Linked DNA regions of Homo sapiens: regions 2, 3 and 4 are each linked to region 1. The links are contacts of gene promoters, found by promoter capture Hi-C in human tissues and cell types (Jung and others, 2019). All regions are on one chromosome and are shown on one strand. The core of a region is centred on a gene start or on the middle of the fragment in contact, and the rest is flanking DNA. Distances in the headings are between cores, read along the strand shown. Region 1 holds the start of SHC4 (SHC adaptor protein 4). Region 2 overlaps GABPB1 (GA binding protein transcription factor subunit beta 1). Region 3 has its middle 29 kb from the start of ATP8B4. Region 4 overlaps ATP8B4 (ATPase phospholipid transporting 8B4 (putative)).

The links. Contacts are between HindIII fragments. The study calls those that stand out against the background at their distance.
Region 2: a contact is called between a fragment that was not itself captured here and the fragment with the promoter of SHC4 in region 1, in 1 of the 25 tissues and cell types used here (lymphoblastoid cells).
Region 3: a fragment that was not itself captured here is called in contact with the fragment with the promoter of SHC4 in region 1 in 1 of the 25 tissues and cell types used here (lymphoblastoid cells).
Region 4: a fragment that was not itself captured here is called in contact with the fragment with the promoter of SHC4 in region 1 in 1 of the 25 tissues and cell types used here (lymphoblastoid cells).

What each region holds. Positions count from the first base shown.
Region 1 is chr15:48,959,366-48,966,579 of GRCh38, reverse strand. It overlaps SHC4 (SHC adaptor protein 4), which reads left to right and starts at 2,661. Exons shown (of 12, transcript NM_203349.4): 1 at 2,661-4,149. The coding sequence starts at 3,565. RefSeq lists enhancers at 3,183-3,684, 3,685-4,187. The HindIII fragment of the contact is 15,905 bases long and covers 1-7,214 here.
Region 2 is chr15:50,304,504-50,311,717 of GRCh38, reverse strand. GABPB1 (GA binding protein transcription factor subunit beta 1) reads left to right here. Exons shown (of 9, transcript NM_016654.5): 2 at 1,920-2,027. The coding sequence starts at 1,920. Among named protein-coding and RNA genes, the nearest start is that of HDC, 42 kb to the right of the region's middle. The HindIII fragment of the contact is 7,646 bases long and covers 1-6,333 here.
Region 3 is chr15:50,144,487-50,151,700 of GRCh38, reverse strand. It overlaps a transcript of ATP8B4 not described here. Among named protein-coding and RNA genes, the nearest start is that of ATP8B4, 29 kb to the right of the region's middle. The HindIII fragment of the contact is 5,114 bases long and covers 309-5,422 here.
Region 4 is chr15:50,045,095-50,052,308 of GRCh38, reverse strand. ATP8B4 (ATPase phospholipid transporting 8B4 (putative)) reads left to right here. Exons shown (of 28, transcript NM_024837.4): 4 at 4,845-4,958. Among named protein-coding and RNA genes, the nearest start is that of ATP8B4, 71 kb to the left of the region's middle. The HindIII fragment of the contact is 5,193 bases long and covers 1,798-6,990 here.

The DNA of each region.
Region 1 (7,214 bases), core at 1,412-3,911:
CTGGAATTCCCAGATTAATGTTCATCCAATTACATTTTGCTGCTGAGTGCATACTGCTTGTAGGTAGTGGCCCAGTTACAAAGGTTTCCTGAGATATCTAGTCTAGTATTATCTTCTGATAAATGATCTTTGGGCTAAATACACTTTCCCTGGGGGTTTTGGAGGGGTAGATACAGGAAAACCATAGATAGGAAAATATTCTGCCAGCCCTGATCTCATTGATCTGTGAGGGCCAGCTCAGGGGTAGGCTTCCCAACAACCCTAGAACCTCCAAAAATCCCCAGCTCATCTTCCTGTCCAGTCATTTCTCAGAGCTTTAGGAAGCAGTAAGATGCCCTGTAGCCATCATAGGCCTGGAAACTAGACTTGAGCTCTCTGGTCCCCTGGGAGGCAGCAGAGTACAGTGGCTGCCAGCAGAGGCTTTGCAATCAGGCCCAGAGGGATCCCAAGATCATTGCTCAACAGCTGGAGCACCTTGAACAAGTCACTGCCCTTTCTCTCAGCCTCATTTTCATATCTGTAAGGCAGTGAGGAACATAATCCAAGCATCCACAATTTGTTATAATAATTGAACCAGAATGTAGGTAAACTGTCAGGTGTTCCACAAATAGTAGCTCTTATTAATATTATTTTAATCATGACTAATTGAAGAGGATGTTCTAATGCCCTGGAAAAAGCAAACCATCTGCTTTACCCACCCATCTACCTAGAATGAAAAGCAATTCAATCAACGAGCCTTCTCTTGGGCTGTTAGGACTGAGAGAGTGGTCCAGCTGGGCAGGCTCAGCCTAGAGGCTATTCCCCACTTCCAGTTGCAGATCTGGTCTCTTTCACCCTCGTAAAACGCTGTAGCAGAGCTACCCAGGACAGCCAAGGTCTCTAGGCTTTGGGAAGAGAAGGAGCCCACAATGGCCATGACTGCTTTCTTACCTTACTTAGTCCCACTTCGCAACCCCCAACCCTCCCAGGACTCGCACTTTCTGAGGCATGTAGGCTGGTCTGGGCTCCTGGAGTCTGGCCAGCATGGTGCCTACCTAGATGAGCTGGCTCCCCTGGACACCCCATCCTGCAGTCATGAGACCTCTGTAAGGATTCCTATCAGCCAGGCAGGCCCATGTCCTTTCCAGCCTTCTCCAGGCCCACCTGATTTAAAAAATTGTTTTCTTTGGACAATGTTGAGTTTCTTAGCTTCTCCCACTTTGTACTAATTTTTCTTTTTAGTTGCCTAGAATGATGTAAACTCTGCAGTGTGAGGGTTAAGAATATGAGCTTCAAGGGGAGGTAGCTCTGGTTCCAATGGCCATTTTTTCATACTGCCCACATGTACTTAGTGAGATGGGCACTGTATGGAGCATTGGGCCTCGTAAGCCCTCATAACAACCCCATTAGATGGCTGCTGCCAACATATGAGGACATTCAGGCACGGAGAGGTAAAGTAACTTTCTAAAGGGAGCATATAATGAGGTCATCATAGCATAACAGAAGCAACACAGGGACCCAGGGACCCAGGGGAAGGCAGGAAAAATGAGAGGAAGAAAGCAGATGAGGAATGAGGAGGAATGAGAGGTAAATATTCTTGCCCAGAGCCTGTCTCCTCAGCCCCAGGGATGTGGGGTCCAACTGATTTAGCTACTTCCCTCAGTTTTGCCAGGAGGAGATGTAGGGCAGGGAAAAGGAGGTCAACAAGGATTGAAGGGAAGATTTATGAAGATGCAGAAAGGCCTTTCCAGGGAAAGAAATGTCTGAACAGGCTTGGCAGACAGGATGTGATGGGTGCTTTATTTCCCTGGGGGACCAGGGAGCTTGGGAGGAGGATGCCGCTTTCACTGGTCACTCTCAACCATTTAATTCAGAACCTGTGTTTGGATCCCAAGGGAGCTCAGGCTCCCAAAGTCATGAATATACATAAGCCTAATCCAGCATTAGGGACAATAAGATAATGAAGGTGGCACCCTTAATTCCTTTGGTTGCCAGTTTGTCTTAATTTTTTAATTAATGAACAATTTCAGATGTCAAAGCCTTGAGACACGGAGTAATGCAATCTTTTCTGAGAGTTCTTTATCTCTTCCTATGTGTGATTTCCACCCCACCCCGACACCCCACACCCCCAGTGTTTCAGCAGTTTCCTCTTCTCCATTCCTGAAGAACCTGCATTTCCTTTTCCCAGCTCTGGTTTTGGCTTCCTGTGTGCTAAGCCTTTGCAGTTGTCATCATGTCTTCAGGATGCATTTGATAGGTACAGGAAGTCGCACCAGACGGAAGATGGAACCAACAATCAATAAAAAAAGAACTATGTTTCTAAGAAAAATGCATCATGGCTTCCCACAGGAGTTGTGAACCATATGTCCTAATATCCCTGTAACAATGGGTCTAATTTTTAGCTCTTCTGCTCTGCCCTCCCGGCCATCTCAACAAGAAAGAAAATAGATCTTTTAACCTGCTGCTCCCCGGCTAATGATCTGTAGTAAAGATTGCCTTTCCTTTTAACTCATTCATCAGATACCACAAAATAAAATACGTCCCTCCTCTCCCGCTAGCTTTATTTCTCTCGGCTACTAGTTTAGTATATTTATGGTGTATGAGTCATCAAGCTGCCTCCTGATTGGATAAAAACCAAGCACCTCTGAGACCGTCAGTCAATTACAGCTATTCTCAGCTTCATTCACAGATTTATTAGCTTGCACACACACAGAGAAATTCATTCGGCAAAGTTCATTCATAAAAATTTCAACACGCTGCGTATCATCCTGCACATCTCAGCTTTCGGCTGCAAATGGGCTTCTGAAAAAAGCTCCGAGAGGAATCCAGGAGGGAGGGAAGCTCTGAGCGAGGGTAGGCAGGCTGGGAGGGGATCTGAGGAACACGGACCCATCACAAGTCAGTGAAACAATGCGGAGCAGCGCCCGTCAGTAGTACTCCTGGCTGGTGGCCCAGAACGGGATGCAAGACAAGATCTTCCAAGAGAGGGCAGCCTTTGGAATCAACGAACCCAGGCAAAAGGGCCTTTGGTTCATAGATACATTTTTTTTTCCTTTTTAAATGAACAATCACTGGAACAAATAAAGGGTTAATAGGCCAGTCATTTGCCCCGCCCTGTGAGAGCCGAAGGGAGCAGGTTCGAAAGTTCCTGTGTGCAGAACAGAAGGCTGGGGTGAGGGTGGGAGTCGGGTGCTAAATATTTCTACTAGGCTCCTGCAAGGCTAGTGATGCAGCGGGCCCCCCGACCGGCGCTCGCCCGGGTTCTGCGCCTAAGAGTTGGCCGTGAGCGACCCGCGCCGCCGGGAGCCTGGGTCTAGGCTCTCCCGACAAGGATTCCAAGGCGAGAACACTGGTGCCTCTGCCTGGGCCAGGGAGAGACTGAAATCAGAGCAGGGGAGGCGTTTCCCCCATGGGCTGTCACCCTTAAGGGGCCGGGAGCCGAGGTGGGCGAGCTCGAGAGCAGAGTTGGAGAGGTGGCTGCTGTGAGTTGCATCGGGCGTTGAGGTATCTGATGTCTGCACCGTTTATCTACCAGACGACGAGGCGATTTATGCAACAGTATCCTGTTTCAGCACTGCCAAGGCTATGCGAGAACGCGGCCAGGACAGCCTGGCAGGACTCGTGCTGTATGTAGGACTCTTCGGGCACCCCGGGATGCTGCACAGGGCCAAGTACAGCCGCTTTCGGAACGAGTCGATCACGTCCTTGGACGAAGGTAGCTCCGGAGGCTCGGTCGGGAACAAGGGCTCGCCGCAGCCTCCCCACCCCGCCCTGGCACCTCACCTGCCGACTGAAGATGCCACCTTGCCGTCGCAGGAGAGCCCCACCCCACTGTGCACCTTGATCCCCCGCATGGCAAGCATGAAGCTGGCCAACCCGGCCACTTTGCTGAGTCTGAAAAACTTTTGCCTGGGTACCAAAGAGGTGCCTCGGCTGAAGCTCCAGGAAAGCCGGGACCCAGGTTCCAGCGGCCCCTCTTCCCCAGAAACCAGTTTAAGTAGGTCCGGGACTGCACCTCCACCGCAGCAGGACCTGGTGGGACACAGGGCAACCGCCCTAACCCCTGATTCGTGCCCGCTTCCTGGCCCTGGGGAGCCAACACTTAGGAGCAGGCAGGACAGGCACTTTCTACAGCACCTGTTGGGGATGGGCATGAACTACTGTGTGAGGGTAAGTCCATTTTCCTCTCTGCCCTCTAAGAACTTCCGTGGAAGGGGGCATCTTCTCTGCTTTCTGCAAGGGGTCTAATGTTACCTGCCTGGGTTCTGTGTTTGGACAGGACATGATTCAACTGGACCAAGGCGGAGGGGAGCTGGGTTTATATATGTCCCTACAACTATCTGACTTGTACTGGAGTCAGGCAGCCTTTGGTTCAAGGACATGAACCGGTGCTAACTTGTAGGACATGAACTTGTGGGTACTTGGCAGGTGTAGAGGCAAGTTCTGATAGAGGCAGCTGATGGCACCACTTTGTCCCCGCTGGACCTAGTATTCTGGCCAAAAAGAGTCAAGGACTTCAAATCTGATCAGTGATTGAGACCTGGTAGGTTATACTGGCCATTGTATTTTGGATGAATACAGTAAAGATTTCTGTGCTGTAGAAACACATGGTGTGTAAGGGGCTTGAATTATTCTTTAAAAATTTATTTCAGCATTTAACAAACACTTCTCAAAACACGTCCGAGTCTCTAACCTTGTGCCAGGAGCTAGTCTTAGCTCTCCGGTGCACATTTATTGCCTTTACTGCCTACGCTGCAGCAAGTAGGCCTTGTCCATGAGCTATGGGCAAAATCAAGGTCCTTACTGGCCTTGTATCTGTCCTTGCTCAGTCAAGATGTGGGCAAATGAAGATTTGGCCTGTGCCCTTTTGCAGCTCAGATTTCAATGAGATCAATGAATACATGCGAAATACTAAGATAATAATACTTAGCAATAGATAGCTAATATGAGAATGCTGAGGGAATTCAGAAAAAAGGAAAGATTATGTGATCTGGGATTCATTCACATGGGGAACCCTCAGGAGAAGATGAATCTTGGAAGAAATGTCAGATCTGGGTTGGCAGAAAGGAGGGGATTCCTGGTAGGCCAAGAATAGGAGCAAAGTCACTGTGGTGGCTGCAGGGGAGCATCACACAGGCTGGGCCTTATGGAGGAGGAAGGGGAATGCTGGAGAATAGTGGGTGACTGAGGGAGGGGGTGGCTTGTAGTACTCAAACAAGTATGAGTTGAATAAAGACAAATAGAGATCACGGGTAGCTTGGGAGACCGAAGTTGACTGAAGCTCTTAAATGCCAAATGAGGAGATTGTAAATACTGTGATTGATAAATGAGAATCCTCCTAGGTTTGTAGGGCATGACTTGCTGAAAGTAATTTTTAAAAGACCAGTTGGTTGATTTATTTGACATGGATTGAAGCAGGGAAAAATTAGAGACTTGGAGGACAGTAAGAAAGATACTCTGAGAGTTTAGGTATGAGGCAATGAGAACACTGATTAAGGTGGAGAGGAGAGAAAGGAGGTGAATGGTAAGGCATTCTGTGACAGAAGAATGAGAGAAGCCTCAACAACCCTGGGAGATTAAGCAGATCATTTCAAATCATAATATAACTAATAGAGTAGTGAACATTTATGGAGCAGTGGGTAGATTGATTATTTTGTTACCATTGTTGTTTATTGGGGTTGTGATTGATTATTGATGGAGGGTTGTAAAGGGTGAAAAAAAAACTTTCAAATTGAAGTCTCAGAATGACATCAGTGATGCCAATGACTGAAGCAGAGTAAATTAGGAAATGGACTCATTTTAAGTTTGTTTTTGACATATTAAATTTAATGTAATTATTTGTAAATAATGCTAATATGTAGGTAGACAGTCATATAAAACTAGCACTCAGGCGAGATGTCTGATCTGAAGGTATAGAGAGCTAGCCCAAGAACTGTATTACAGACAATTAGGATCTCAGTATTACAAACAGACAATTAGGATCTCAGGGAAGTTCAAATAATAAACACTGGAAGGGTTACAGAGAGAGCAGGCTTGGGCAGTCCTGGCAAATGGGTAACTAAAACCTCTAAAGCAGATAAATGTATGGGACATGCAGCTCTCGCCCTCACCCACAGTGACATGGCACATAATGGAAATATTTTCATGTTTCTACTCAAAGTTCATGGGCATATTCTCATTTATCAAGATTAGGTGTGTGCCAGGCCCTCATGGGAAAACGAGTGAGTCTCCAAACCTGGGCTCTCTGCACTTGCCTTACCATCACCTACACATCCTCTAGCCTCTGCCTCAGCTTTCCTTTCCTCTTGTACCTCCTGCAACCTCCCCATACCCACACACCTGTACAATTTTAAATGTGAAAAGAGTTGCTGTGTGATCTCCAGTTTCCCTAGGGAGTGCCTCCTCTGGCGTTTTAGATTTTTAATGGGGGCACCATCTGTCTTTTCATGGCAATAATCACTGACTCCAGAAAAAGTGCTGACCCCACGACCCAAATGAACCTCACAAGATTGCCGATATCCGTGATGTCCGATACAAGCTAATGACATCTCTTATGAAGTCAAAATACGTGAAAGAACTTACTTATTAAGTTTTATAGAATCCTAACTTTGAAAGACGGAAGACTCAGAAGTTATCAAGGTCAATTCCTTAATGGTGAAACCAAACCCCAGGTTTTTCAAAGGCCACACAGATGAGTTAAAGCAGAGTGAGATCTAGAGCCCAAATCTCCTGTGTGCCATTCTTATCTGTCTTCACCACAGGTTTCCATCCTGGTTGTTGTTCTGTTCCTCAGAATTCTTTTGAGATGTGAACCAATTTTGAAAAATGAAATGCTAAGCTATTAATTTACAGTAAAAATATCATACCAAATGAACCAAAGTTGTGAGCTCTGTATTCCCATCTGTAGGAAAAAGCACATAAAAAATTTTAAATCAAACCTTGCTTGGTAATAATGGATTCATAGGAGAGAACTGAGAGAAAGATGATCTTAATGGCTAGTTGACACAGGGCTGGTGGATTTAGGGGCAAAGTTTACAGGAAAAAAGCCACTTCATATTCTACCTTCTTATCCATATCATGTGACTGCTCCTCTCCCTGCCCCAACTTATTTGCTAATCCATTCATCCATTTATTTAACAAATATGTATTATGAATCAATTATGCAGCAGGAACTGTTCTAGGCACTGGGCATCCATGAACAAAATGAATCAGTTCTAAGCATCAGTAAACAAAAG
Region 2 (7,214 bases), core at 1,261-3,760, 1.3 Mb before region 1:
TCCTTTCTCTTCCTTATTGAGTGCAAGTTGAGTATCCCTTATCTGAAATACTTAGGTCCATAATGTTTCCGATTTTGGGTTTTTTCAGATTTTGGAATATTTGCATTAATACTTACTGGTTCAGCATCCCTAATGCAAAAATGCAAAATCTGAAATGCTCTAATGAGTATTTCCTTTGATGCTTAAAAAGTTTCAGATTTCAGATTTTTGGATTAGGGATACTCAACCTGTAATAGTTGTTCATACCAGGTAGAGATACACTAATCAACCTGCCATTACTCTCTTTATAATTTATTTTCTCTTGACTACTTACCTAACCCTCAGAGTATATACTTTTTTTGAGATAAATTTATACCCCAGGCACATTTTTTCATTGTAAATCTCAGGGATTCCATATATTCCCTTCCCCATGGGCCTAAAATTCTGCTTTTCCTTACTTAGGATACTGTATGACATAATTGAGTAATCTTCCAGCTGGATAGTCTTTCTGGGTTTGGAAACTTTCTTCTCAGAACTGTCATCCCTTGAATTTGAATGTTTGTGATACATTCAAATCTTAATTTACCTATATTCTACTGTCATAATCTTTTTTCTGACATATATTTCAATATTTCTTATTCAAGAAGACACAAATACATACACACCCATGCACACCTCACATCCCAGGCTGGGACATTAGCCTTTTCAGATATATTAAATTCAAGGCACAAGATATTCTTTCCTGGTTTTTTTTTTTTTTTTTGAGACAGAGTTTACTTTGTTGCCCAGGCTAGAGTGCAGTGGCATGATCTCGGCTCACTGCAACCTCCGCCTCCTGGGTTCAAGTGATTCTTGTGCCTCAGCCTCCTGAGTAGCTGGGACCCTAGGTGTGAGCCCCCATGCCCAGCCAATTTTTTATTTTTAGTAGAGATAGGGTTTCACCATGTTGTCCAGGCTGGTCTCGAACTCCTGGCCTCAAGGATCCACCTGCCTCAGCCTCCCAGACTGCTGGGATTACAGGGATGTGCCATCGCACCTGGCCTCTAGCCTCTAATGAGACAGTCTATTCGTAATACTATTACTGTTTTTAGTATTTTCATAGAATGTGAATTGTTTACTTTCTGCAAGAACTTAAATATACATTGCATGTAGGAGGGCAGAAAATTTGTTTTTTAAAATTTTGAACACATTTACTATTGCAAAAAAATTTATGCTAAGTTTAGTTTAATTTGCACCAACAACAGATGACAATATCTTGCACTTTATTTACTTTTATGAAAAATTTTATTGCTGCAAACCCTCCAGTAAAAACAATTAGTTGCCAGTTTTAAATTTTAGACCAGCTTGGCTGGGTGGGGTGGCTCATGCCTGTAATCCCATCACTTTGGGAGGCCAAGGCGGGCAGATCATTTGAGGTCAGGAGTTTGAGACCAGCCTGGCTAACATGGTGAAACCCTGTCTCTACTGAAAATAGAAAAATTAGCTGGGTGTGGTGGTGCATGCCTGTAGTCCAAGCTACTTGGGAGGCTGAGGCAGGAGAATCACATGAACCCAGGAGGCGGAGGTTGCAGTGAGCCAACATCGTGCCACTGCACTCCAGCCTGGGTGACAGGCCGAGACTCTGTGTCAAGAAAAAAATAAATAAATAAAAATTTAGGCCAGCTTTTCTCTGCTACTTACCTCTTCTATCTTTTACCAGATGTATTTGGAGAATTTAAACTACTTTTATTCTAAGTAAAAACTTAATGAGAAAGGAAAATGGATTCTAAAATCCAAATATAAATTGCTTTTGTATGATCTGTAATTTTAAATTAACCATAGCACACTCTTTTGAAGGGATAATTGAGAACTGACTTATTAATAAAGACAGGAAGGGAAAATGTCATGTCATAGTGTATAAATGGAGATTTTGATGTTCAGTTCATCTATGTTTTGTTTAGATGTCCCTGGTAGATTTGGGAAAGAAGCTTTTAGAAGCGGCACGAGCAGGTCAAGATGATGAAGTTCGTATTTTGATGGCAAATGGAGCTCCCTTTACTACAGACTGGGTAAAGAATGATTTTAATATTGTGTGTTCTTTTTCCTTCTCATTTTTGAGTTTTTGCAGAGAAAAATGTAGTCAGTATTGTGTTTATAAGTGGTAAAAAGTTATTATTTTTGCAAATGTGTTTATTATTTTAGAATTATAACTGTCCTAAAAGAAGTGGTTTATATTATTTTCTTTGATATTGGACAACCTTATCCAAATATTTCATCCACAAAGAGTTTTTCTTTCAAACTGTGGAGTGCATTAATGTGGCATGAATATAAAAATGTATCTGCTTGGGATTTAATTTAAAGGCCTTATAAATAGCACAGGTAGAATTTATAATTCAGAAAGATACTGATAAAGATTGGAGTTAGTGTTAATAGTCACTCCTAAAAGAAAAACAAGTTTATGTTTCAATTATTACTTGTAAAACTGTTGCAGACATGACGAAAGAGGAAGAAAGGAATGGGAATGAGATCTTGACAACTATGGAAAGAAGGTAGTTGTGGGGAAGGCAAAAAAAAATAACTCTTTAATTCTGGGGGCAAATAAAAAAGTATTGTCTTGTGGATATGGAATGCTAGGAATCTGAATTAACCTGCCCATTGGTAACAACTAAAAATTCCAGATTTTTGATTTTGCCGTTTTTGCCTTTCTTTCTCTTTTTACATTTTTCATGAAAAAACAAAATTTTTTATTATAGAAAATTTCAAATATATATCAACGATATCCCTGTAATACCCTTTACCCAACTTCAAAAATTATCAAATCATGATGAATATTGTTTCCTCTATAACTCTGTCTACTGTATTATTTTTTGTTCTGTATTATTTTAAAGCAAATTCCAGGGACCATATCATTTTATCCATAAATGTTTCTTTAAAGAATAAATAAATCTTTAAAGAATAAAGACTTTTTGATGAAATATTTTAAAGAAAGTCTTCTTAAGTACACTGCTGAATTAGAAAGAAAGAGATTATCAACCTGAAAAACTAAGTGAAGGCAAGAACCCAGAGAAATTTTACCCTAAAGAACATTAGGTGAACTCACACTTGTCTGGTGGTTTTTCCACCTCACTGGCTTGGGGTACTAAAGCTAAAGACCTGAGAGTGTTCATGGAGAGAAGTCTGATAGGAGATCTTATCTCATAATTCTGGAATCCCAAAGAGCTGCACCTTCAGTGTAGGGATAAAGCAGGAATACCCTGTCCCTCCTCCTGTCTGCTCCTGCCCTTGCCCCTGTTGCCGTGATGCTGCAAAGATAATAAGCTGATGTGAACCAAGACATCAAATGGAGAGAGGAAAACAATCTGATGGTGAGAATTTGGAATCACAAGGCATCCTTTTTACACACTTGCAGCCTGAACTCATAAATACTTGTGTAGTCTAAAAAACTGTAAACTGAGAAATGAATTTGAAGTGATCTTTGGACTAGGGATTACCCCAGGCTCTTGACAGAAGCAAATGAATATCTGCTCTGGAGGAACCTGCCTTCATCCCAGGCTTCATATCCACAAATGAAATTCAAAGGAAAGTGAGCAGTCAGAAATAACTAAACACATGAACACATGCCAATTTGGACAGTAATCTGCTAAAACAACTGTCAACAGAAGCAGACCTATAAGGACTTGAGATAAAATTTTAGTAACAGATTAGAAACAGCTAAAGAGAAAATTAGTAAACTGAAAGGTATGAAAAAAAAAATGATCCAGACTATGTCACAGATAAAAATAGATAGAAAATGTAAAAGAGATGTTAGGAATCATGAAGGATCATGTGAGAAAGTCTAACATCTGATCATAGATCCACAAAAAGAGCAAAAATAGGGATGAAATAATTCAAAGAGGTAATTGCTGAGAATTTTCCAGAACTGATGAAAGATGGCAGCCCACAGATTTGAGTAGCCTAACAAATCTCCAGCAGGATCAATTTAAAAACTAATCTATATCTAGATATATCATAGTGATGCTGTAGTACCTCAAGACAAAAAGATCTTTTTTTTTTTTTTTGAGATGGAGTCTCACACTGTTGCCTGGGCTGGAGTGCAATGGTTCAGTCTCGGCTCACTGCAACCTCCGCCTGCCGGGTTCAAGTGATTCTCCTGCCTCAGCCTCCCAAGTAGCTGAGATTACAGGCACCCACCACCAAGCCCAGCTAATGTTTTGTATTTTTAGTAGAGATGGGGTTTCAATATGTTGGCCAGCTGGTCTTGAACTCCTGACCCCGTGATCAGCCCGCCTCGGCCTCCCAAAGACAGAAAGATCTTAAGAAGGATTAGTATCCATAATACATAAGGAATTCCCATGGGTTAGCAATAAAAAGACAAGGCAATAGAAGACTGACTGGATATGGTGCTTTACCAAGGAGAAAGTTTGATCAATAAACATGAAAAGATACTCAACTACATTAAAATTGGGGCAAATGCAAAGTAAAATCATGAAATACTATTATATATCCACCAGATTAGCAAAAACAGTTGAGCAGTACCAAGGCTTGGTGAGGAGATGGTGGGAACTCTCAAATATTTTTGGTGGAAGTATGGAATTGGTATAATCGTTATGGAAGACAGTTTGGCAGCACATAGTAAATTTGGAGATGTGCATAGTATATGATGTAGCAGTTGGGCTTCTAAGACTATTCCCGAGAGAAGACTTGTTCATGTGCCTGAAACATATACAAGACTACTGTATTTAGCAGCAACATTATTCATAATAACACAAAAACTGGAAACAATCTAAATGTTCATCAGTAGATTGGTTAAATTAATTGTGGTTTACTCATTCAATGGAATATTATAGAACACAGAAAATTAGTAAGCTATACTTACAGTTATTAACATGGTGAATCTCATGAATACAGTGTCAAGCAAAAGAAGGCAAGTCACAGAGAAATACATGCAGTATAATTCTGTTTAAATAAAACTCAAAACAGGCAAAACCAAAGTATATTTTTTAGGGATAAGTGATACAAAGAAAACTAAGTAATGCTTGTCACAAAATTCAAAATATTAGTTACCTCTGGGGCTGGGGGAGGGGCTTGTGATCAGGGAGTGGCATGTGGGAAGATTTTTTTTTTTTTTTTTTTGAGACAGAGTTTCGCTCTGTTGCCCAGGCTGGAGTGCAGTGGCATGATCTTGGCTCACTGAAGCCTCTGCCTCCCGGGTTCAAGTGATTCTCCTGCCTCAGGCACCGAAGTAGCTGGGATAACAGGCGCCCACCCTCACACCCAGCTAATTTTTTATTTTTAGTAGATGAGGTTTCACCATGTTGGCCAGGCTGGTCTCGAACTCCTGACCTCAGGCAATCCACCTGCCTTGGCCACCCAAAGTGTTGGGATTACAGGCGTGAGCCACTGCGCCTGGCCAGATTTTAAATTACTGGCAGTGTTTTATTTCTAGACTATGGTGTTGATTCACAGGTGTTTGCCTTAAACTACATATATTGGCTGAGCACAGTGGCTTACGCTTGTAATCCCAGCACTTTGGGAGACTGAGGTGGCAGATTATTTGAGGCCAGAAGTTCAAGACCAGCATGGGCAACATAGACCCCATCTCAAACAAAAAGAAAAAAATTAGTCAGGCATGGTGGCTCAGCCTGTAGTCCTAGCTACTCTGGAGGCTGAGATGGGAGGATTGCTTGAGCCTAGGAGTTAGAGGTTACAGTGAGCTACGATAGCTCCACTGCATTCTAGCCTGGGCGACAGAGCAAGAAGCTGACTCTAAAAAAATGAATAAAAAAAAACCCAAAAAGCTACAAAAACTACATGGCCAGGTGTGGTGGCTCATATCCATAATCCCAGCACTTCGGGAGGCTGAGGGAGGAGGATCGCTTGAGCTCAGAAGTTTGAAGGTACAGTGAGCTGTGATCACCCCATTGGACTCCAGCCTGAGTGACAGAGTGAGACCCTGTCTCAGAAAAAAACAAAAAACCCTGCATATATGTATATATATTTTGTGTCAATAACCAAGAAGGGAAAGTCTCAGAAGACAAAAATAAAAAAGTAGATCCTAATGTCAAACTGAGCAAAGCTCCTGGTTGCTAAATGGGCTGTTGAGATATTTTCATTAAATACTGAAATTTAAGAGTATAGAAAAGGCTAGTTAAAGAAAAATTGACAAAGCATGGAGAAAGAAAGGATTGTTTAAGGATCTTCTTTGATCTGCTGGGATGACCTTCTCTTAAAAATGTAAGGTTTAGCTGGGTTTGTTGGTGTGTGCCTGTAGTCCCAGCTACTCTGGAGGCTGAGGTGGACAGATTGCTTGAGCCCAGCAGTTCAAAGCTGTAGTGTGTGATAATTGTACCTATGAATATCCATTGCACCCCAGCCTGGGCAACACAGTGAGGCCCTGTCTCTAATTAAACAAACAACAATTAAACAAACAAACAAACAAAAAATATATCTATCTCTCTATCTATAGATAGATAGATAGAGAGATAGGACTAAGGACCTTTATACATATATCTCACTTAATCTCTTCATAACATAATAAACTGTTTATATGTGTAAATTTCCTTAGTCCAAATATCTTAGTTCTTTGGAATATCAAGTGATGTGGTAATCAGAGGGTTATAGGGATTTTCTGTGCCTTTAAATGCATGTGATAGAACTTAATCTTCCTTCCCTCACATTTTAGTACTCCCTCTGTGTATTGTGGATGTCAATTTAATGACTAGACCACATGGAACCAATTTCAGGAGAATTGGGCTCTGTTTTGGTTTTGTCCTGATTCAACTTTGGCAAATGCACCTAAGATTTTTCCTTTGAAAAAAATCCCTTTAAAAAGATCACTGAGATGTTTCAATACGTGAATTTTTTAAGACCTACAAAACAATTTTGATCCACTTAAAGTAAAAATGTACACTGTTACATTTATTTGAGATGAATTTTACAGACGAAGTTAACTTAGCAAGTTTTGTGTGATTGGTATGAGGAATACATTCTAATACACAGAAAAATTTCTCAAACTCTATCTCTGATTTCTTTTTTTTTTTTTTTTCTTTAGACCAAAATCTCGCTGTGTCACCCAGGCTGGAGTGCAGTGGCGCGATCTCGGCTCACTGCAACCTCTGCCTCCTGGGTTCAAGCGATTCTCCTGCCTTAGCCTCCTGAGTAGCTGGGATTACAGGCACATGCCACCACGCCTGGCTAATTTCTGTATTTTTAGTAGAGATGGGGTTTCACCATGTTGGCCAGGGTGGTCTTGAATT
Region 3 (7,214 bases), core at 1,616-4,115, 1.2 Mb before region 1:
TCAGCTCAGTGCTGCCTCCACATCCTGGGCTTAAGTGATCATCCCACCTCAGCCCTAGAGAAGCTGGGACTACAGGCATGTGCCACTACATCAAGCTACTTTTAAAATTTTTCGTAGAGATGGAGTTTCGCCATGTTGACCATGTCAGAGGTCTTTCTTTTTAAATAGCAGAATACAATCAGAAACATTAGTTATATTACCAAGGCTTTGACCAAAATATCATATTTGACAGTGTGCATAGAATGACTGGCTTCAAGTGTTCCCAGACTTAAATGAATAGACAAAAAGTTGTTACTCTCTGGCAGGCCCAGGAACCTTAAGACTATAGGTAAAATCTAAATCTGCCTTGGTTTGGCTTCCTAGCCTAAAGAAATTTTAAAATCTGAGCTTCCTATGTGATTAATATGTATAGAAAAAGTTATGTTTCTAAAGAAAAGCTATAATACACCTGTTATTACATTGTAACTCTGTGCATTGTTTTTGAGTTCCTGTGATCTACCTACAGACTAGACTAAATCCTGAATTCTAGAGCCTTCCAATCCAACTTTCTTTCATGGAATTGCTAAAAATTGAAAATGCTCCATTCCTGAAGCCCTATAAGCTGAAACTAGATAAATTTTAAGGAAGTTGTGCCTGATAATGAGTCACACAACAATTTACAAAACCACCTGATGCCACAGACAGATTTAATCTGCAAACCAGGATGAGATGTTTTCATGCTCTAGACAGCTTTTCCCAAGATGTTAGGACAGGAATCCATATCATAATGAGACTCTTACCCCTGTTAATGCCAACCATTTTCACTTTACAGGATAATGGTCATTTGATTTATTCAATTGGTTGTCTTTAGCCTTAGCCCAGGTTCATGTCTCAAAACCATTATGCAAATTAGAATTGTCATATTACTATTAATTTTGTGTTGTATTTTCTTATTTTAAACTTTGTATTTGTTATTTGTTAAATTCTTGCAGAGGTACAACTCTGAACAGAATAATGCTGGCCTAGAACTTGGGGATGATAGCAAACCCCTACGAAACAGACAAAATTAAACTTAATAATGGACTCCAGGTAGGCTAGCCTGAGAGCTTCGCTTCAAACTCCCTTTGTTGCTCAAATGTGGCCAGAAGAGTTTCAGTATGACTCGTAGTCACCAATCATTCCTTCCAAATGTGGGTGTAGATGAGCAACCTGGGACAAATCCATCCTGGTACTGAGGGACATCAAAATCCAACTATAGGTTGATTGATCAGTGATGCTTTTGGAGAAAGATCTTGATGAAAAGGAGGGAAGTGTGAAAGTTCTCAGAATCAAAATGGAGTCCATTGTGTTAAAATCCTCCCTGAGAAATGGATCTGGGGTAGGCCATGCAGAGAAAAGTTCTCATGAAATGCCTGATAACACATACTATCACAAAAGACTCTGCAAAACTCCCAACCTTGCACAAAGACCATCACAGCCTTTTGCAAAAAATACTTTTATGTGGACATTTGCCCAGCAACTCACTGTTCAAGCTCACCTGCTGTCACTCTTGTTACTGTTACTGATCCTTGTAGCCAAGGATAATTATCTCAAAAACCACTATGAAATTTTTTTTTTTTTTGGGACGGAGTCTTGCTCTGTCACCCAGACTGGAGTGCAGTGGCGTGATCTTGGCTCACTGCAACCTCCACCTCCCGGGTTCAAGCGATTCTCCTGCCTCAGCCTCCTGAGTAGCTGGGATTACAGGCACCCTCCACCACACCTGGCTAATTTTTGTGTTTTTAGTAGAGACAGCGTTTTGCCATGTTGGCCAGGCTGGTCTCAAACTCCTGACCTCAGGTGATCCGCCTACCTTGGCCTCTGAAAGTTCTGGGATTACAGGCATGAGCCACTGTGCCCGGCCAACTATGAAATTTTCTTAATTTTTCTCTTAAAAGCCTTTGTCTTCCTTTACTGCCCTGAATACACACATAGTTTACTATGGCATGTGCTTTCCCACTGCAATGCCTTATTCCCAAATACATATCATTTATTTTTAGAGAGTCTTTCTTTGCTATTTAGGTTGATAAATGCCTCTATTAGAATTTCATTCTAATGAAGTAGTTTTTCATTAGATTCACTTCTCTTTTGAGCATATTATCATCATTATCATTATTATTATTGTGGTTATTTCTCTAAAGAGCTCCTCTCTGCAGTTGTTTCCTACCACCTCAGTGGACTCTGTGATGATCAAAGAGATCTGCTTCAAGGCTTAGTGCACATACACATATTATCCCCTCCCATGCTTGCCTTTTGTTTCCTTATAAACTGTTTAACCAGGAAAACAGGTCTGACTGATTTGAAGAGGAAGAGAGGTCAGCAGTCTATCACCAGATCAGACTCTACCAGTGATACTAGGATCTCCTTTCTAACTTCTGGCCTATAGCTTACTCTCTCTTGTCTTCTGTGTTTTATGCTTATGACATGACTCAGATAATATACAGGGACATACTGGGCACTACGGCAGACCTAGCCAATCAATCATGGCATTATCTTAGGCTGAGCCTAATCATGTGTCAGAATTGTTCTTAACACAATGTTCTCAACTGCCACCACCACATTCACATTTAACCCCTGAGATTAGTTCTGCTTATCATCTCTGTAGTATTGATTCATAGATGAACAAGAGAATCACCTGGGAAGCTTTAAAAATAGCATGATGTATTGTTATTTTTAAAAGGGATACTTATCTTTTTGAGATACATACTAAGTACTTATGGATGAAATGATGTTGAACCATTTGAGAGATAGTTGTAGACAATATAACATTTTATTCCTAAATACTTTCAGTACGTATCACTTAAAACAAGAGAATTTTGTAATCTAACTACAACAGAATTATAACACTTGGGAAACTTGAAGTCGATACAATTTTATTATCTAATATTACATTTAATATTATTATCTAATATGAATTCTTATTCAGTTTTCGAATTACTTCAATAATATCTGTGTTAGCCTGTTTTGTGCTGCTATTACAGAGTACCTTAGACTGGGTAATTTATAAAGAACAGAAATTTATTTTTTCATAGTTTTGGAGGCTAGAAAGTCCAAGATCCTTTGCATTAGCAGGTTTGGTTATCTGGTGAAGGCTGTAGCCTCCAAGAAAAGGAATGCTGTGTCCTCACGTGGCAGAAGGTGGAATGGCAAGGAATGCATACTGCATGAAGCCTCTTTTGTAAGGGCCTTAATCCCATTCATGAGGGAGGAGCTCTCATGGCCTAATCCCCTTTTAAAGGCCCCACCTCTTAATACTGTCATATTGGCAACACCTACATTTTGGAGGGGACACATTCAACCCATTGCAATGTCTTATAGCTTTTTTTTTGTAAACCATCCAAAAGCCAATCTAGATTACAGATTGCATTTAATATTAAATATAATTATTTATGTCTTTTATGTTTCCTTTAATCAAGAGCAGTTCCCCAGCTTTTCCTTGGTCTTTAATTGACATTAACATTTTTGGAGTCCAGGCCAGTATTTTGTTGAATGTTCTTTAACTTGGGTTTATGTGATGTTTCCTCATGATTAGATTCAGGTTTTGCAGTTTGGCAGGAACACTAAAGAAGTGGTGTTCTGTCCTTCTCAGTGTGTCAGACCAGGAGGCATCTGCTGCCTGATTGTCCCATTATTGCTCGTATTAAGTTGGATCACTTAGTAGAAATGCTAACTGCTAGATGCATTGGAAAGATATAGTTCTTCTTTGTAATTAATATGTATTGCATGGAGTTATACTTTTAGATTGTATAAATATTCTTTTACGCCCCAATTTCCCACTGAATGATTTTGGCACTCTTTGATGATCCTTGCCTGAATCTATTATTTCTATGGTGGTTCTGAGAGGGTGATTTTCTGTTTCTATCATTCCTTCCACATGCATTCATTGGCATCTTTTCTTTTTCTTTTTTTCCTCCTTTAAAGGTTGGGTATAGACTCAGCAATTTTCAAAAAATTCAATGTTATATATTCTTTTGTGTCATTGATCTTGGTTGGCTCCTGTGTCTTTTGGCAGGTCCCGATCAGCTTTTGAGCATGTTCTGATGTTCTGAAACAAAAGATGTTCCAGGATCACCTTGTGCTTCCCTTGACCCAGCCCTGGAATCAACCATTTCTCCGTGGGATCCTGCTTTTGTCTTTTGACTATGGTGTTTAGACATGGAAGCCAGGGTGCAGGTATACTCCTTCTGCAGGAGGGTTATTGCTTCTAGGCTCTTTCAATGGACAAAATAGGAAGTATATACTTTTTTTTTTTTTTTTTTTTTGGAGACAGTGTCTCTTTCTCTCTGTCACCCAGGATGGAGTGCAGTGGTGTGATCTCTGTTCACTGCAACCTCCGCCTCCCCAGTTCAAGCGATTCTCATGCCTCAGCCTCCTGAGTAGCTGGGATTACAGGCATGCAGCACCACACCCGACTAATTCTTGTAATTGTAGTAGAGGCAGGGTTTTACCATGTTGCCCAGGCTGGTCTTGAACTCCTGACCTCAGGTGATCTGCCCACCTTGACCTCCCCAAGTGCTGGGATTACAGGCGTGAGCCACCGTGCCTGGCTAATACATAGTTTTAAAGACCTCGAATTTGTACTGATACCTCTAACTTCGTAACCCAACACCAAAGAGTTTGCGTCTTCTTCCTTTACTCCATATCTCTTTTAAAAAACAAAAAACAACCCTCCCATAATGGGAAAACTGGTTCCCAGTGAGACAGCCAAGTGGGAAGAGGATCCCTGGAAAAACTCCAACTGGCTTGTGCACTGGGAAGAGTGCACACTGGGGTGGAGACACAGAAGTTCACAACATTTGCAGAAGGGTTCCTCTTCCTGTGTGGAACCTGGGATTCAAGGCTCCTCCTCTTCCTGTGTGGAACTTGTGGGTGGGAAGTTCTCTAGCAGGGACTCTGGCCTTAGGAGGATCCCTGTTTCCCCTTTTTTCCCTTTTACCCAATACAACCCTGCTTTACTCACGCTTCAAACCATCTATGAGCCTAAATGTTGGTGACCATGGGACGGAAAAGGACCCTGTCTTTAGCTGAACTAAGGAAAAGTCCTGCAACACCAGCAAGATCAATATGTTTATCTATTTGAAATTCTAAAACACACGCAAAGTAGTTTCAGAATTACTACATCAATACCACTACCAAAGACAAACTTACCTTACCAGGTAAAGTTCAAGGCTTTCTTAATTATTATCCTTAGAATATTCCCTGAGGGTGGCCAGTTAGAATTTCACATTCACAAGTTACTTGGAATAATTATTTTTCTTGTTCTGAATAATTACATTTTTTATATGATACATGCTTAGGTTGATTTGTTTCTGTTTCTGTTCAACTTAACAGTCCTCCCAGCCTGGTGACTAAATTTTATATTTGAAAATGTAGGCCGGGCGTGGTGGCTCATGCCTGTAATCCCGGCACTTTGGGAGGCCAAGGCAGGTGAATCACGAGGTCAGAGTTCAAGACCAGCCTGGCCAAGATGGTGAAACCCCGTCTCTACTAAAAACACAAAAAATTAGCTGGGCACGGTGGCAGACGCCTGTAATCCCAGCTACTCGGGATGCTGAGGTAGGTGAACCACTTGAACTCAGAGGGCAGAGGTTGCAGTGACCCGAGATCGCGCTCCTGCACTCCAGCCTGGGCAACAGAGTGAGACTCCGTCTCAAAAAAAAAAAAAAAAGTAAACATTTATGTGGTTCAAGAGTAAAAACTATATAAAAATATAATCAGAAGAGTTCTATCTTTTTCCATCTTTCTCATTCATTTTCATCCTTTTGCTTTAGGTAATCAATCCCATTAGTTTCTGGTTAATCCTTTCTGCATTTCTTTTTTTGCAAAAATTAGGACATATTCATATATCTTCTGACAAAGTAGCTTTGGCCAAATAGAAATATTGTCTTGCTGGGCACAAAGCACCAATTTTCAAAAAAGTTCCCAATGACTGAGCAAGCATTTTCTCTTCTTGGTGTACCTGAGTGCACCTGTGATAGTAAGAAAGAAAGAAAGAAAGGAAGGAAAAAGAAAAAAAGACATGGTGAGAGTGGCGGTGAAGAGAGTAGGGGGCCTAATTAGCCTTAAGAATTTATTCACATTTAGTAAAATTTCCACTAGATGGCAGTAACACTCCAAGAATAAGTTTCCTTTGTGTTCTGGGATAGGGTGACGCACCTACATGGAATGATGAGCTGTGGAGTGTGTTTAGGACAGACTCCCACCCAATGCAGAAATATTTTAAATGGATTCATTTTTCAGGTAATACCAATTTAACTTTTAAAATTAACTCTAAATCCAGTTTATCCCTCAGTAATGTAATATACTGAAAAAAGAAAGAGACTGATCCTGAATCAATGTATGACTGATCTGTGATTTGATAGCCTCTCAAATCAGACAAGATACTATAAACAGCAAATGTTAAAAAACCCTTAAGATTCAGTAAAATGTATTTTTATGCCCAGTGTTAATTAAAATCTCTTTATTGAATGCACTTTACCTCTTTATTTTTTGTTCAATTTTGTTTTATCCTGATTTTTAAAACAAGTAAAAAGTAGTCAAAGCCAAAAAGTAAACTAAATATCAAGGTTCATTTTAACTCAGATTAGGATGTGGTACATATAGCTGGGATTGTAGAGGTAATACCATACCCCTGGTTAACTCAATAGATCTTGCAAAAAGTTCTATTTAATATCAGTCACTGCTTTTCATGGCTCAGCTAGGCTTTAAGAACGAAATATTTTCTACGATATTCAGTAGTGTAATATGATATGGAAGCAACTGCTTCCATAAGTGTAGAGGGCAGGAGTGATCTGATCAGCTGAGAGTAGTCCGTGACGGCTTCCAGGAGTAAGTGAACTTTGAAAAAGGTGCTGAAGGAAATCATAGATATGAGTTGATAGTTAGGGAAAGGTAGGCCCTGTGGATAGGAAGAAAGATGTAAAAAAAAAAACAAGGGTAATTGCAAATGATGTCATCTCATATTAGGTTATTCTTTCATGATGAAGTGAAGGAAAACATGCCTTAACTTTGTGATATAGTTTGGCTCTGTGTCCCTACCCAAATCTCATCTTGAATTGTAATCCTCATGTGTCAAGGGAGGGACTTGGTGGGAGGTAATGCCCCCATGCTGTTCTCAAGATAGTGAGTGAGTCTCATGTGATCTGATGGTTTTGTAAGTGTTTGACATTTTCCCTTTTTGCTCTTCTCTCCTGCTG
Region 4 (7,214 bases), core at 3,145-5,644, 1.1 Mb before region 1:
TACTCCTTTTCTTCTGGATTGGGATGTTTGTAGTCATTCATGGTGGGAAAGTACTTCTGAGAGGATAGTGGTGAAGATCTTTCTGTGCCTTATTATGGAATGAACTGTACTCAGATTGGACTGTAGGCCTATAGCCTATGAAATGACTAAATATTAATGTGCCTGATTTAAGGTCTTACCAATGCAGTACTCATATGCTTGGACAGGGCAGTGGAAATGGAAATGTGTTTTGCTTTTGGTTGAAAAACAAAGAAAAGTAGACTGGCCCAGAGATTTTCCAGGAGGGGGAGCCCTTGTTCCTTGTTCCCATTCAAAGCTGTGAGGGTTTTCATCATCTGTGACTAAGTTACAACAGAACGAGTAGAACAAACACAATCATTGCTATATGTCATGCTAAGCAAATAGGAGAAAATTGTCATAGTTTCTGTTTGGCATTATTTATCCCACAGAATTAGCTCTTTACCTATATGGAACTCAGTTTTGTAGGAGAGTGTCTTTATAATTCCTGCCGTGGTTTTGACAGTTATAGACATTGCATATGTCCTTTTTGCAAGATGCTAGGCTAACCTCTATTTTAGCTTTAAGTTAGAAGGAAAATATAAAACAGAATTAGGAATGTGAGCTCCTTATTTAACTGTATTTTCTCCTTAGCTTTAATCTTCCCCATTCTTTTCTCCAAATCCTTTCTTTAGAAAAACATGTGATTGACAGTACCAACACCCTATTTTGCAGTGTGTTAACTTCTTGAGTAGTTAACATACTGCAATATCATCATTATTAGCTTTCAGAACGGTTTTCAGTACATTAATGTGCATCAGACCAACTAAGCTGGAAACTCTTCTCTTGACATCTCTTCTTATTTTCCCAGAACTTGTAGCACAAAACTGGACACCTTGATTCCTGACAAATGTTGTATTAGTCCGTTTTCATGCTGCTAATAAAGACATACCTGAGACTGGGTAACTTATAAAGAAAAGAGGTTTAATTAATTCACAGTTCAGCATGGCTGGGGAGGCCTAAGGAATCTTAGAGTCATGATGGAAGGGGAAGCAAACACGTCCTTCTTCACATGGAGGCAACAAGGAGAAGTGCTGAGCAAAAGAAGGGAAAGCCCCTTATAAAATGGTCAGATCTTGTGAAAACTCACTCACTATCATGAGCATAGCAGCATCAGGGTAACCACTCTAATGATTCAGTTATCTCCCATCGGGTCCCTCCTACGACATGTGAGGATTATGGGAACTACAATTCAAGATGAGATTTGGGTAGGGACACAGCCCAACCATATCAAATGTTAAAAATGGTCATTTAACAGATGACTGGACTCTAAAAAAACAGATAGGAGTGATGGCTAGGAGCCAGTGTAGGTTCACCTAAAACAAGTTACCCCAAACTAACCTCATTTAAAAAATATTATTCTGGGCATATTGATTCTGAATTTCAGTAATATCTGTCACCCCAAATTTCTCATGTTATCTTTGTGGATAGGATAGAATTAAGCCTCAAATAATATAGTTACATGGCTTTACAAGTGGTTAAATAAAACATATTTAATATGTTTTATATAAAACATATTAAACCTGAAAAAATTGTTAACATTAATTTGTAGAGAGGTCTCTAGTAGTTTGCCATAGCTTTATTGGTTTAATTAAAATTTCTTTTGGTGCATTTAGCCTGTTTTTTTTTTAATGTATATTTGTCTACAGCTTTGGAAGAACATATAAAAGGCATGTGTTTGAAATTTTCTGATGACACAAAGCTGGGAGGAATATTTAATGCTTTAGATAGTATACTCAAGATTAAATATTTTTTCATTAGGCTGGTGTAATAGGAAATATGAAAGATGTATACATAAATATTTTAAAAACCAACTATAAATGTATAGAAAGGGAAAGATGATTTAATAGTGATTTATGTAGAAATGATCTAGGAATTTTTGTTGATCAAAACTTAATATGAAGATATAGTGAGACACAATTGCCAGAATGCCAATGAAATCTTTGGACATGTCAGTACAATAGTTCAGAACACAGGACATCAAAGTCCTTACTATACATAGACTTGTTGAGCTAGATCTGCAGTTGTGTTTGGTTCTAGGCATCATGTTTTAAGAGAGATGCAGAGAAGCTGGGATGGACCCAAAAGAGCCTCACTGGGAAGAAATGTCTGTAAAATAAATCATAGAGAATGGTTGAAAGGTTTGGGAATGTCTGAGTCAGAATAAATATTTATGGGAGTCCTATGAGTGGTTCTCAAGTATTTGAAGGTTATCAACATAGAAAGGCCTTAGACTTGGTCTAGGTGACCCCAGGCATGGAATTTGCTATGTGGCAAGAAGACACTTCTCAAAAGAAGACATACATGTGACCAACAAATATATGAAAAAATGCTAAATACCACTAATCATTAAAGAAAGGCAAATCAAAACCACAATGAGATGCCATCTCACACCAGTCAGAATGGCCATTATTAAAAAGTAAAAAAAGAAAAAAAAATAACAGATGTTGAGGTTGCAGAGAAAAAGGAATGCTTATACACTGTTGGTAGGAGTGTAAATAAGTTCAGCCATTGTGGAAAACAGTGTGGCAATTCCTCAAAGAACCTAAAACAGAACTAGTATTTGACCCAGCAATCCAATTACTGGGTATACACCCAATGGAAAATAAATCGTTCTACCATAAAGACACATGCACTTGTATGTTCATTACGGCACTATTTACAATAGCAAAGACATGGAGTCAACCTAGATGCCCATCAATGGTGGACTGGATAAAGAAAAATGTGGTACATATACACCATGGAATACCACACAGGCATAAAAAAAGAATGAAACATGTCCTTTGCAGCAGCATGGGTGAAGCTGGAGGCCATTATCTGAAGTGAATTAACACAGGATCATAAAACCAAAGACTGCAAGTTCTCACTTATGAGTGGGGGCTAAACAATGAGTACTCATGGACATATACAGCAGCAATAGACATTGGGGATTACTAGAGTGAGGAGAGTGAAAGGGTGGGGTAAGGGTTGAAAAACTACCTATTGGATACTATGCTTGTTACTAGGGAGAGTGGATGTCCCAGCTCTTGTCTAACTTGGAAGAAAGATTTCAACCAAGAGACAGTACAAAGATAGCAAAAAATTTTATTGAAAAGAAATATATTGTAAAGAGCTTATTGTAGGAAAAATGGGTACACCCCAAAGGAGGAGTGGGATGATCCTGTGCGAAAACAGTTCCAAAGGTTCTGCACAGGGAGCTTTATCATGCTGGACTTTTTCTGCAAATTACTGCCCCTGTCTCAAGTCTCCACCTTTCTCCTTTGCCTAGTTTTTCCCGCTCCTGCCTTAACTCCTCACCTAGGCTTGTGGGACCCTCCCTTACTGTTGGTTAATGTGCATGTGTGGGCTGGTGATCAGTACAAATCCTGTCTGATGGTGGCCCTGCTCATTGCTGCCACCCCAGAAAGGTTGTATAGTGGTCAAATCTATACCTGTTGGGCCTACATATCTCTTTGGAATTTCCTTGTGTGTCCTAATCTGTACTTGTGGTGCCAGGTTTCTCTTGGTAATGTCCCCTTTGCCCATCTTTTTTCCTTTTTTTTTTTTGGCAGAGTCTTGCTCCATCACCCAGGCTGGAGTGCAGTGGTGCAATTCCGGCTCACTGCGACCTCCGCTTCCTGGGTTCAAGCGATTCTCCTGCCTCAGCCTCCTCAGTAGCTGGGATTACAGGCGTGCACCACCATGCCTGGCTAATTTTTGTATTTGTAGTAGAGAGGGGGTTTCATCTTGTTGGCCAGGCTGGTCTCGAACTCCTGACCTCAAGTGATCCACCTACCTCTGCCTCCCAAAATGCTGGGATTATAGGCGTGAGCCACTGTGCTTGGCCCCCTTTGCCCTTCTTATTAGCATGTAGCTAACGACATTCTGACATTTTAACTGCAGAGTGAATGATTATTGGGGTGTCTTAAGAGGCATTCCGCGGTGTTTCTTTCTGTGTGGCTACCTTCTCGCTCTCCTACCCACATATGACTAAGTGCCCCCCGACAAGCATTAGAAATGGCATTAATATGCAAATTTTGGGTGGTCCCTCAGGTGTGAGCCTTCCCAGAGGTTTCCTTTCCCAGGAGCTCCCCTCCTGTTAATGTCTAGCTCTCCACCCACTCTAACATGCTCTTTACCTGACGACAGGATCATTCATACACCAAACCTCAGTGACATGTAGTTCTCTCATGTGACAAGCCTGCACACATGCTCCTGAACCTAAAATAAAAGTAGAAAAAAATAGTTATTAAAAAAAAAGAAGTTATAGGGAGGCAGATTTGGGTTCCTCATAATAAGGACCATTCCAGCAATTCCCGTTCTGAAATGGGGACGGGCTGCCTTGCGAGGCAGTCAGTTTCCCATCCCAGGAGATCTTCTAAGACAGACCTAGGAGCCCCTTGTCGGAGGTATCTAAAAGGGTCATGCTTTGGGAAGGTGGACCAGATGATTTCTGAAGTTCCCTCCTGCCTTGCGGGCTCCAACAGGAACTCAATACTGCATACAGTAGGTACTCAAGCAATGACTGCCAAATAGTTGAGTGCTTAAGTCAGAAATCTCAGGGGTAGACTTTTGCATTTGATACATATTTAGTTACAGGTGAGTTTATGGCATGGACCAGTAATTTCATCTAGTATCAGGAGCATATCATCTTGGGAAAAATGAAGGCCTTGAGCCACACAGAGTTGAAATTTCCTAGATAACCGGCTTATCTTTCTTACTCTGGCTCAGGCTTGTAGGTTTTAGAGCTATTTCTGATCATGAGCAATGCCTTGCCCCAAACTAACATGATGCTATTTCTTTTCCAGGATAATCGTATCCACACATCGAAATATAATATTCTCACCTTCTTGCCAATTAATTTATTTGAACAGTTCCAAAGAGTGGCAAATGCCTATTTTCTTTGCCTTCTGATTTTACAGGTAATATTTAGGTTGTATTTCTCTATTATCTGTTTGTTTAAAGTATTCATAAAATTGTAAAAAGTAAGTCAATTTACTTAGCTAAATGTTCGTGATTAGGTACAATCATCCTTTATCAGATTTTTAATCTTGTTGTTGCTGTTTCTTTTCACAAACGTGGGAGAGGTAGGAATGGTTAAAAAGTAGTACATTCATCATTTTAAACACTGAGGTCACTTTAAAACACAGCCTTGCACTTTATTTGAACCAAACCAGAGCCTAATAATTACTGTTCACAGCCTCCCTCCTTTCTTTATCTCCCTTTCACATCTACAGTGTGGGGATTGCCAGAGTTGAGGCAGAATCTTAGGTGACTAAGACTGAGTAGGTTGCAGAGCTTAATTCTGCACATTTCATTTTCATTTAAGAACAGTGACATATTTTTAATATATATAAAGTGATGATGCTATATGTTATTTCACTGTAGGTGACTACTTTTACAGTTTTGAATGGTTAATTGGTATTTAGTAACCTTTGCTTTTTCTCCTAACTAAAATTTGCCTTTAAATGAAATTTCAGCTTTTATGGATATTTTGGGAAGGAAAAACATATGAATCAAGGAAGCTACATATATACTGTACACATACATACTATACACACACATAAATAGTTCATGTTAGCCAGTTATTTACCTAGTATTTATGTTAGCATACTTTAAGCAGATCAAACTGGTAGGTCAAGAATGGCTAAGAAGTAAGAAGATGGATTAGATTAATAGATTTGAGTACTGTTTTCTCTTTAATTGAATATCTATTTAAGAATATGTTTCAAGTGACAGAAATCTTAATTAGTTTGAGCAAAAGATAAATTATTCATGGGTATCTCATTTCAGGTATTACTGGATTCATGGGCACAATTTCATCAGGATGTGGCTTCTCTTTCTCTGTTTTTGTTTTGTTTTGTTTTTGTTTTTGTTTTCACACATTGGCCTTTCTTAGGTAGGCCCTCTACTTGGTGGCCCTGACAGCTTCCTGGTTTCAACTCAAGTCAGAGAGAGAGAGAGTGGGGCAGAGAGGGGGAGGGGGAGAGAGAGAAAGAGAGAAAGAGAGAGAGAGAAAACGAATGAAGGAATTACTTTTTCTGTTGCTCCAGCAAAAGTCTTGAGATTAGTTCTGATTGGAGCTGTATCTTCATTCCTAAACCTGTCACTGTGGCTCAAGAGTTTGATCCAGTAATTGGCTTAACCAAGATCATATGCCAAACCCTGGATCCATGGTGGAATCAGTTTCCTAAAGTTATGTGGACAGAAAGTGAGGGGATATGATGGTTCCCTAAGAAATAGGAGTATATTTGAGAAGAACTGGGTGCTGATCAGGAAAACAAAAACAAACAATGAATAAACATCTTACTATTTGTTGAAGAAAGCTTAGAGTCCAAATTTCTTCCCCCCACCTCTCCCCATGAAGTTGCTTTTGGTTTCTTCAAGTAACACTTCACACCATTCCAGAATTTTGAATTCATTTCTCTAATGGCTTTCTCATTTGTGGCCAAAGGCTCTTGTTCATAGAATTTTATATTTAGAAGGGAACTTTGGGATGGTTCAGTCTAACCTCTCCTTTCTTTATTGCTGAAGAAATTAGACCCAGAGAGATTAGGTGGTAAAGCTTTCACCATGAGTTGATGATGAACTAGGACTAGAATTTAGCTTTTCTGACACCAAGCTCAACATTTTTACTGCTACATCAGAGGCTTTTGAGTTTTTTTTAAAAAATCTTACATGGAAGCTGCTATGTAAAATTGATTTAGAGTTGTTTTGATGGGGCCTGATCTTTAGCCACTGACCGTCTCTACCCCATCCTTTCCTGCCTGATGGCCCCGAAGCAGCAGATTTTCAAATGAATCCCATTTGAAAACCACCTAAGAGATTTATGTCCACTGTCACTATGTCTCTCTTATGTGGGTGGCTTTGGAGGTATGGGCACAAGGGAATAGGGCTTGGAGTCCAAGAGACCTAGTTTCAAATTTTAACAGTATGTGATCTTGGCCCAGTTGCATGACCTGTTAGATTCTTCATTTATAAAATTGGGACATGATACCCAGGTCTGCAACATTTCCTGACTCCTGGTCACCCGTCATAATGTAGTATTCTGTGTTGTGTACTGGGGGTACTATTTATGTGGAATACAAACCTTCTGGGATTATACAAAAACAATCCTAGTAGGAATCTAACTCAATGAACTTTTCCGAGGATTAAATGATGTAATAAATGGAAAGTAC